Regions from separate parts of the Homo sapiens genome. Here all the other regions are linked to region 1. The links are contacts of gene promoters, found by promoter capture Hi-C in blood cells and fetal thymus (Javierre and others, 2016). All regions are on one chromosome and are shown on one strand. Each heading gives the region's core, a stretch centred on a gene start or on the middle of the fragment in contact. The rest is flanking DNA. Distances are from core to core; before and after follow the strand shown.

Region 1 (3,501 bases), core at 321-2,820:
CTGCCAGTTTCCAACTGAGGCCAAGTCTCCAGAGCAGTGTGGACGGGCTGAGAGAAGGCATTCTGACTGTGAGGAGTGCAGACGAGAAGAGCCTGCAGTCCCAGAGCCCAGTGCATCAAATTAGCAGAAGAAAGAGCCCAAATTCACAACCAGGTGGGACCAATTAAATCAGAACCAGACGCCTGAAAAAGGTCTGCTAACTAGCAACACTGCAAGCACTTGGAGTTCTTTATGCAGAATCTCAGTCTTTCCTGGAATGATTCAGAATCTGCACTTTAATATTAAAGTTCTCTAGGTGATTCTTACGCACATTAAGGCTTCAGAAGCACTGCCTTAGATAAAGGACCTTCTTTCCCAGGTGGATACAATTTAGGGTGCAAAACAGCTAGAAGAGGGAGGGGGACAGAGAATGGCCTGCTATTTAGATACGAAGCATCTTTTAGAATGGAAGCTTGCATCGATATCAAAATGGCTTTCAGAATAAAAATCAGTGACTCAGCAGGGGATACTGGGGCTGGTGTAGGCTGGGGGTTCAGAGTTAGGAATGACAGAGCGGGCCCGTCCACCAGCTGGGAGCCCTAGTGAAAGTGGAATAAAATAGGTGGCAGTTGCATTTATAAGTGAGTTGGGCATGAGTTCTTGCACTTTAGGAATAACATTTTTTTTTATCTTTGTGTAGGGTTATATTTAACCTATTATCTGCAATTGATTATCTAACAGGACTCAATAAATATTTGAATTGGAACATAATCAGTTTCAAAACAAAAAATTTAATTTCCACTTCAAAAGAATTTCTACCCCCTGCATTTCAGAAACCTATAATTTAAAAATTGTTTTGATTGTGCATTTTTTTAAAGCTAGGCATGGAGTTTGCCAGTAATAATGACCATAATTTGTGTCAGGCAGCCTCCTACGTGTTTAAATCTGTCTCACTCAATCCTCACCAAAACTCTAAGATATACATATTACTCCGTCCATCTTATAGATGGAAGAAACTAAAGCTCAAAGAAGTCAAGTTAACAGTCTTCGGGCACACAGCCAGTGTCTGTCAGAGTCAGGATTTGAACACATGCAGTCTGGCTGCGGCATCTATGCTCCTAACCACACATTTCTGTCTCTATTGACTGACTGATTAAAATGTCTCTAACCTCAGTGGGGTCATTTGCAGTGAGAAAGAAAAAGAAATAAAGATATAATGAGTTCCGAAAGGGAAAGGACCTTATCTCTTTCACTGCCCTGTCACCTCTGCCAGAAGTGACAATAAGAGCCAGTCAACAGAACGGTAGACATACCTCTCTGACCCGCACATCTGGGGAATGAGAAGCCAAGAAGTTCCAGATGTAAGCAATATCAGGTGGTCAAAGCTCTTCAGAGCAATCCAAGGCACCTTAAACTAATCTTAAGGAACAGAGCGCGCTCACTCGGCTTTTATCTAAACTCAACCACGCACGACTCTGCTCCGTTCCGTTCCGAGAAAGGCAGGGGATCCCTCCTCCGCCAGCCTTTGGCCGTTGAACGGACGGACCCACAGGTCAGGAGTTTGCGGAAGGCTCATCTCCCAACTCCTTCTGGGAGGAGTCGGGCCGCCTGGGGTGGGGGATAAACGGTGCTCACTTCCTGGAGCGGCCAGGCTGGAGATGGGGGAGGGGAAGGGGGAAGGGGGAAGGGGGAAGGGGGAAGGGGGGAAGGGGAGAACGGGGGAAGGGGGGAAGGGATGCTGACTCTGAATCCACGCCTGACAAAATGGTTTGCAGTGATTCCCTAAAGCAGTTTCCAGAGCTGCCTCCTCTACATACTTCAGCTTGTAGAATAGAGGTTTAACTCTCTTTACACGGCCTATTCCCAGCTGCAAAGGTGCCTCTTCTGTGCTCCCTTCCCAAACTTGAGTTCACTTGAAAATGCAGAAGTCTCCCTCATTCTTCTTTCACCCGTGAACCACCCCCAACCCGACCTGCAGAGCGGGTCAAACTCTCCAGACAAGTGGGGACAGCGGTAGCTGGCCAGAAAATAAACTTGCTCACTAACCTGGAATCTGTGGCCTGGATCAGAGCCAAGGACTTGAAGCAGCCGCGTCCTCCACCCAGGCCGAAAGACTCAGGGGGGAAGGGGCGGGGCCTGGGGAGGAGGAGGGTCAAATTGTCCAGCCCCGCAGGAGATCCAGCCGATTCCATGGGTGTGGTCACCAGTGACCCCTCAGGTGGTAAGGGAGATGGAGATGGTTTCTGAGGCCAGGCGCGGTGGTTCACCCCTGTAATCCCAGCACTTTGGGAGGCCGAGGCGGGCGGATAACGAGGTCAGGAGATTGAGACCATCCCGGCCAACATGATGAAACCCTGTCTCTACTAAAAATACAGAAATTAGCTGGGCGCGCCTGTGGTCCTAGCTACTCGGGAGGCTGAGGCAGGAGAATCGCTTGAACCCGGGAGGTGGAGGTTGCACTCCAGCCTGGAGACAGAGCGAGACTCTCTCTCAAAAAAAAAAAAAAAGAATTTTTGAAGGTAGCAACGCAAAGCTGTTCATCTTACCTGATGAACGGCAAATCCGGAGGCCTTTGAGAACACCAGGCCAGAGATGACCCTTGTAAATTGTCTGCAGTGTACTGTAGCTTTCTAATATCATATCAGAGTTTAATTACACTGATAATACACCTGTACTCCATATAGACGTATTAATTAAAATGTCTAAATAAACATATAAAGTTATACGAGTAAAAGCCCCTTTGCATAATGGCATGTTTTGCCAAACGATCATTAAAATTCATCAGTTTAAAATTACACGTATGTATGTATAAAGCTGTGTGTGTGTATCTGTAATTTTGACCTATATAACTAGAAGACAATCTTTGTTTTTATTTAGGTCTGATGAATACATGTAAAGCTTATTGAGCCTCAGAACTCTAACTACAGGGTTTCAATAGCACAGAAACTCTGAGAAGAAAAAGAATGTCAAAGTTCCTCCCTAAGGAGACTGATTAGGTGAGTATCACCTTGCCTTAGAAGGTGGCTTGGGGAGGGAGGTATAGAGAGAGAAGGGACTGGGGTGTCCATACAAAAGTCTGGACGGAGGATTGGGCAGTAGGGAGAGAGCTGGGTTAAGTATCAAGAGATTTCTCTGGACAGTCCCCAGGCAAATGAAAGGTCATTGGAATCTCGTAAGTGCAGACATGTGTCACTATTTCAGTGACTACCTCATGTCTGCAGGCTTAAGAAGCCACGCAAAGGTTATTTCAGATCACCCTTTGTGTAGCTTTCTTCACAACGGTTTTAGGTATGGCTGCCTCCATATTGCCCCTGGATGACGCTTCAGGTCAAAGCCTGCTTATGCTCTGAAATTCTCCTGACCCCACCCAAACTGCCCAGTATGGACACCACCCTGCCACTGGCCCAGCCAACATTTAAGTCCCTTGGAATACAAAATGGTATGATTGACACCCAGAGGGTTAGAAATATTGGAAAAGGGATGGAGAAGCCCAACCCAGAGTCCCTTCTCAGGCCATTTTCT
Region 2 (3,185 bases), core at 411-2,910, 310 kb before region 1:
TTTAGATTGGCTTGAAGCATGCCAATGTTTCACAGACATGGACTCAGCCAAGATGACCAATATTCAGTGTTTACCATAGCATTTGGCATAGCTCAGCCGACCTGCTCCAAGACTTGCAGTATTGATGGCTTTGTACAAATTCAGTTAAAAAAAAAAAAAACTCTAGAGCTTGATAAACTCCCTAAACAACTTTCCTTTCTTGGGAATTCTATGTGCACACTGTGCTGTTTTCAAATATGCTCCTGGCTCCCATGTTACAGCCCCTGGAACATATACTTGGTAATGAATGGGGTTTTCTCTTCTGTATTAGCTTCTATGCTCCTTAGAAATTAAAGTTCTCTGTTACCCATTTCCATTCAGATTACTCACTTTCTGGAGCACGTGACATTTAGCAAAGTCTCAGAAATGATACAGGAAAACTCTTAGTCGAAGTTCTTAACGTATGATACCAAAATTAAGTGGTCTGGTGGTTTAACATATTTTGGGTAGAGTGAACAAAATTGAACATATTAGAGCCTTTAAATATACAAATGTAAATATTCAGGCTCTAAAATGAGATTTTCGTAGTTGAAATATTATATAATAATACATTAAATAAACTATAATTGAAAAGTGGTATTTTACTTAGAAGACACTCCACAATGAATTTTTTGTCATCTTTATTCCTTGTTAAATGATCTGTTTAGTTTTTTTTAAATTCTGTATCAATTTCAAAATATCTACTTAGAAAATGATTACTTGGTTACTTTTTCTTTATATATTTATATGACATATCACTTCAGTTTACTTCCACTTGTCAATTTATACTGTTATTTATATTGTTATTACTTTCGCACTATTCTCTGTACATTTCTGCTCATTCTACCTTGAGTTTCAATCAGGGCTCCATTTCCAATTAGGAGCCAACTTCACATTTTTGCAGCTCCTAGAATACCCAAAGAAATAAATTGTCCTATTTATCTTCTATACCTTATTAAGAATGACTTTATATTATTTCAGCAGCCACACTATTACAGTCTGCCCTAAAACCCACTCTAGCAAAGACTGTGGAGGATGGGATTTCCCTGAGTCCTTAAGCCCAAGACAGAAACCTGTTAACTCTTCAAGCTTTATAGTCTCCTGACTGAAAGTCTCTTTCACGAAGGTAAGAGCTGAGAGGTCCATGAAGAGGCCCATGCGTTGGGATAATCTGGATCTGGAGAGCTGACCTCAAACCAGGGATTGTATACTAGAGTGGATTAGTAAATGAAATCTACATACATTAGAAATAACAATTACACTATAATTATGTTTAGTAAGCACTCATTTTGTTTCCAAATCTTTTAATGTTTTACAAGCTGCACAGATTTTCACAACATTCACTTTAAGCTTCAATATCCCTGCTCATAAAATGCTATAAATCAGTATGAATTTGTTATTGTGAACTCAAAGAGTCTAAGTGAAATGCTCAGGTCAAAATTTTAGGTAAGGCCATAACCTGTATTTAAATCTAGATCTTATGACTCCTAGTTAATTTCTCTTGCCACTGTATCCTGCCTGGTTTTGATGAAATACCACATCATTTTAATCGTCATGAACTTCAGCTTTGGATATGTAAATACAGAGAATCTTCATGTGGAAAGGCTATTCAAGACAATTACTGGGCAATAACTTTTACAAAGCCTTTGTTTCTCTTTAGGCATTTTGTAGTATCATGGGGCTTAAGTGTGAGTACTTTTTGCACTTTTAATGGGTGAAACAGAGAGATTGTTTTGGAATCTTTGAGCTATAACTTCCAACAGACCGTACTGAAATCATGAGACGTTGTAGGGGATATAATGCTATTGGCTCATGTGGGAATGCAAGAGAAGTAGTAAAAAAAATGTTTCCAGTGTTTATTTTGTTATGATCTCATTATTGTCTAACTGAATTGTTGTGGAAGATCCTCTTGGGGTCAAAATGCCAAAAGCTTTTAGGGTTGAGTATCCTAAGTACCTGCTCTCGTATCTGTTTTGTTTTGACCCCATAGATAACAGAGTTAAGAGCAGGGGGAAAAACCACATACAGATTGGCCAGAAGAATGTGGATGTAATGAGGGATGTTGTGGCCAAAGCGGTGTGTCATGAAGGAAAAGAGGGCTGGCAGGTAGAAAGCCAACATAACACAGACGTGAGAGCCACATGTGCTGAGTGCCTTAGGCCGGGCATCCCAGGCTGGGAGATGGAAGACAGCTCGGAGGATCTGGACATAGGAAAATCCAATCACAGAAATGTCAATGTATCCCACTGAGAAGGCAATCAATCCATATATAACATTAATACTGGCACAAGCTAACTTTGCCAAGCCCATGTGTTCACAATAGGTATGAGGGATAATCCGGACACCACAGAAAGGCAATCTCAGGATGAGAAATGTGAATGGAGTCACAAATACCAAAGTCCTGACAATGATGACTATGCCCAGAATGGCTATTACCTTGTTGGTAAGGATCATGCTATATCTCAGGGGGTTGCAGATGGCAATATAGCGATCTATGCCCGTGACTGTCAGTACCACAGACTCCAGGCCAGTGCATATATGAATGGTATACATCTGTGTGATGCAGGCACCAAATGCAATCTCTCCAAGATTAAACCAGAAAATTCCCAGCATCTTGGGGATGGTTGCTGTAGACAAGCCCAGATCAGTGCCGGCCAACATGGCTAGGAAGTAAAACATGGGTTGGTGGAGGCTCTGTTCAGTCTGTATCACAAACAGGATAATGATGTTCCCTAGAAGGGCTGTTAGATACACTGCAAAGAAGGGGAAGCCAATCCATACATGCACATCTTCCAGCCCTGGGACCCCCACTACGAGGAAGGTGGAAGGGTGAAACTGTGTATTGTTGGTATGAAGCATATTGGTGGCCATTCCCTACAGACACATTTCTTGCATGAGTTTTCTTGCTTCCAGTGAGAAACCATAACTTCTTTCACAGCATGGTGTCTATTTCTTGGGGAAACAGAAAATCCATTCTTTAACTCCATAATATAGCATAAGAGACCTAGAGAGGGAATATGAAATATAGTTAAAAAGACACTCTCACTTTTAAATATTTGCCTCACTTACACAGGAAACCATGCAGAAAGTTTCCAAAATATAGCAATCCTGCACTTCCCATGTCTTTCCTCCCTTCAGTCTCTAAGAAAAAACTTCCATATGGCATT
Region 3 (3,292 bases), core at 102-2,601, 510 kb before region 1:
GCTTTTTGGTGTGTTTATAGTCCTACCAGTTGTGTAGGAAAGTGTTAATCTCGGGGTAGGCTAGCAGTAATAGTTAGAAACATTTCACTTTTTTGTTCTTACTTATTTTCCAGGTAATAGGAAATTTTCTTGTAATTTTAATATACATATTTTGATTAGTGAGGCTGACAGTTTTCATGATTTTATTGGCCATTTTTTTCCTAGGGAGTGTGGTAAGTGCAGATTATAACCCTGATCTATTGAGAACTAAAACCTCTGTCATTTCCTAACATCTTACTGGATTCCTAAAGCTGGAGTTACTTGGACACGTCCTGACCCAGTCCAAGCAGTCTCTGAAAGCCCAGTCTGAGTTTGTGCATCCTGAGTGCACAGGCCAGGGGGTTGAGTGCAGGGGGGATGACATTGTGCAGCACATTAAGGAACACAGGAATAAGGGGAATCTTTTTCTCTGCAAGGTGTGTGACAGACAGCACAATGATACCTGTGTGGAAGAGGATGAGGATGAGGTGGGAGCTACAAGTGCTCAGAGCCTTGGACATTGCTTCTGCTGAGTTCAGCCTCAGCACAGAGTGAAGGATTACAGCATAGGAAGAAAATACCAGAGCCATATCACTCCCAACCAAGACCCATGCTAGCATCAGTTGGTAAAATTTGTTCACAGTGATGTCATCACAAGCCAGGCTGATAACCCCCAAGTTAGAGCAGAGGCAGTGCTCGATTTCATTCCTGGAACAGTAGTGTCTCTGGGCAGCCAGTATAGGCACTGGGATGGTCAACAGGCCATTCCTGAGCATGATGAACCCTGTGGCTTTGAAGACAAAAGCTTTAGTGACTATGGAGGGGTACTGAAGAGGGCGACAGATGGCTATGTATCTGTCTACTGCCATGCAGAGAAAGATGCCTGACTCTATGCAGAAGAAGCAGTGGATGGCATAGATCTGAGCAAAACACATGGGGAGGCTAATGGCCTTGGCATCAAACCAGAAGATGGCCAGGATCTTGGGCATGATGGTGGTGGCCAGGCCAATGTCCACCACTGCTAATATGCCCAGCAAATGGTACATGGGTTCATGTAGCACGGTCTCATGTTGAATGGTGATTATGATGAGGAGATTGGCACCAAGAGCTAAGAGGTAGAGCAGAGTCAGGGGCAGGGAGAGCCAGTGCTGCCACTCATGAATGCCTGGTAATCCCATCAGGATGAACTGGGAAATCTGGAGGCTGGAGTCATAGGTAACACTGGTGGAGGTATCCATGGAATGGGTGCCTCAGTCTCAGTGTCTGTCTGAAATAGAAGAAATCTCTGTTTAAAAGTTCAGCTAAGGGGCTGAGCATCGTGGTTCATGCCTGTAATCCCAGCACTTTGGGAGGCTGAGACAGGCAGATAATTTGAGGTCAGGAGCTCGAGACTGACCTGGCTAACATGGCAAAATCTCATCTCTGCGGAGAATACAAAAATTAGCTGGGTGTGGTGGTGCCTGTCTGTAATCCCAGCTACTTGGGAGGCTGAGGCATGAGAATCATTGAACCTGGGAGGCGGAGGTTGCCGTGAGCCGAGATTGTGCCACTGCACCCCAGCCTGGACAACAGAGTGAGACCCTGTCTTAAAAAACAAAACAAAACAAAAAGTTAAGTGTCTTGGTAAGAGCTCCTCAATAATGAACCAGCTCCTTTTATTCATGAATGACCCTCAACTTTATTTGACTTCTGGAAATATTCCACAGAGGAATAACAAAAAAAGCAAAAAAATTCTAAACAGAAGAGTTGGAATAACTATTTTTCATCACCACTTGTATGTCTAATAAGCATGTCCACATATATTAACAACAGTCTTATCACTAACAGATAACAAATGTTAGTATTTGATTTATTTCCAATTTTCTATTTTATTTTTAAACAGTCTACATCATTATCTAGAGATGATTTTGTATCTTGTTTTTGTCTTTTAGCAGTATGTGTTAAGATGTAATATAAGCACTCAAAAATTTTATTTCATGGATGAATACATTAACCAAAGACTTCACAATATTATTTAAAAAGTGTGATGTTAATTTTAATTGCTGCTTTAAATTTTTGCATTTGGCTATTCTATAATTTACTGACAGGTATTTTGCTTTTAATATTGTTTTCCTTGAGTAGAGTTTCAAAAGTGATGCAAAAATTATATATACAAAGGATATAATAGTCTTAAAATTTTAAATATAATTTTGATTTTATTTTAAGATATATTATCTATACATGGTAAAAATCAAAATAAAATGAAAAATATAAACAATGAAAAGTAAGACTCTCATGCTTGGGGCTTTGAAATCTTTTTCCTTTTCACTAGAGGCAGCCAGTAATATGTTTCTTGGGAATCCTTCCATTAATAGTTTATGCATGGATAAAAACATATATATATATATATATATATATATATAATTTTCATAAAAGACATAATCAATTGTTAGCACACCTTTCTCCTTTTTTCTTTCCTTTTCTTTTTTAACTTAATATTTTGAAGACTGCTCCATATTTCCATACTGCAGTTAAGTTGCATTATTTTCTACCACCTAGATGCCCTATAGTTTAATGATTTTTTTTTGTATTTTTAGAATTGATATATCATATTTGTAGATATTTTGGAGGTACATGTGATATTTTGATACATGTATACAATGTGTAATGATCGAATCAGTGTAATTAGGATATCCATCACCTCAAGCATTTATCTTTTCTTTGTGTTAGGAACATTGCAATTCTCTTTTAGCGATTTTGAAACATACAGTAAATTATTAACTATAATTTTCCTACTGTGCTATTGAATACTAGAACTTATTTCTTCCACCTAACTGTATTTTTGTCCCCATCAGCCACCCTCTATTCTTCCCCTACCCCCACCCTTTCCGGCCTCTGGTAACCACCATTCTATTCATTACTTCTGTGAGATCCACTTTTTTTCTTTTTCCGGCTCACTGCAAACTCCACCTCCCAGGTTCAAGCGATTCTCCTGCCTCAGCCTCCCGAGTAGCTGGGATTACAGGTGTGTGCCACCACACCCGGCTAATTTTTGTATTTTTAGTAGAGATGGGGTTTCACCATGTTGGCGAGGCTGGTCTCAAACTCCTGACCTCAGGTGATCTGCCTGCCTTGGCCTCCCAAAGTGCTGGGATTACAGGCGTGAGCCACCGTGCCCAGCTGAGATCCACTTTTTAAGCTCCCAAACATGTGTAGGAACATGTAATATTTGTCTTTCTCTACTTGATTTATTTCACTTAACACAATAACCTCCAGTTCCATTCATGTTTCTGCA

The links. Contacts are between HindIII fragments. The CHiCAGO score rates a contact against its expected background, and 5 or more counts as called.
Region 2: a fragment that was not itself captured here is called in contact with the fragment with the promoter of TRIM6 in region 1 in 1 of 17 cell types (megakaryocytes); the score reaches 7.6 in megakaryocytes.
Region 3: a contact is called between the fragment with the promoter of OR56B4 here and the fragment with the promoter of TRIM6 in region 1, in 2 of 17 cell types (neutrophils and total CD8 T cells). The highest score is 8.8, in neutrophils.

Annotation. Positions count from the first base shown.
Region 1 is chr11:5,594,706-5,598,206 of GRCh38, reverse strand. It overlaps TRIM6 (tripartite motif containing 6), which reads right to left and starts at 1,570. Exons shown (of 8, transcript NM_001003818.3): 1 at 1,293-1,570. The coding sequence starts at 1,309. TRIM6-TRIM34 (TRIM6-TRIM34 readthrough) reads right to left here and starts at 1,570. Exons shown (of 14, transcript NM_001003819.4): 1 at 1,293-1,570. The coding sequence starts at 1,309. It also overlaps a transcript of TRIM5 not described here. RefSeq lists enhancers at 1,586-1,635, 882-1,799, 1,954-2,248. The HindIII fragment of the contact is 2,426 bases long and covers 454-2,879 here.
Region 2 is chr11:5,900,469-5,903,653 of GRCh38, reverse strand. OR52E5 (olfactory receptor family 52 subfamily E member 5) reads right to left here. Exons shown (of 3, transcript NM_001005166.5): 3 at 924-3,022. The coding sequence starts at 2,877. The coding sequence ends at 1,894. The region is part of intron 2 of LOC112268071 (a long non-coding RNA gene); the gene reads left to right. It also overlaps the pseudogene OR52Q1P. Among named protein-coding and RNA genes, the nearest start is that of OR52E5, 8.9 kb to the right of the region's middle. The HindIII fragment of the contact is 580 bases long and covers 1,371-1,950 here.
Region 3 is chr11:6,105,743-6,109,034 of GRCh38, reverse strand. OR56B4 (olfactory receptor family 56 subfamily B member 4) reads right to left here and starts at 1,351. Exons shown (of 1, transcript NM_001005181.2): 1 at 200-1,351. The coding sequence starts at 1,256. The coding sequence ends at 297. All of the region lies in intron 2 of LOC124902622 (a long non-coding RNA gene), which reads left to right. The HindIII fragment of the contact is 4,106 bases long and covers 826-3,292 here.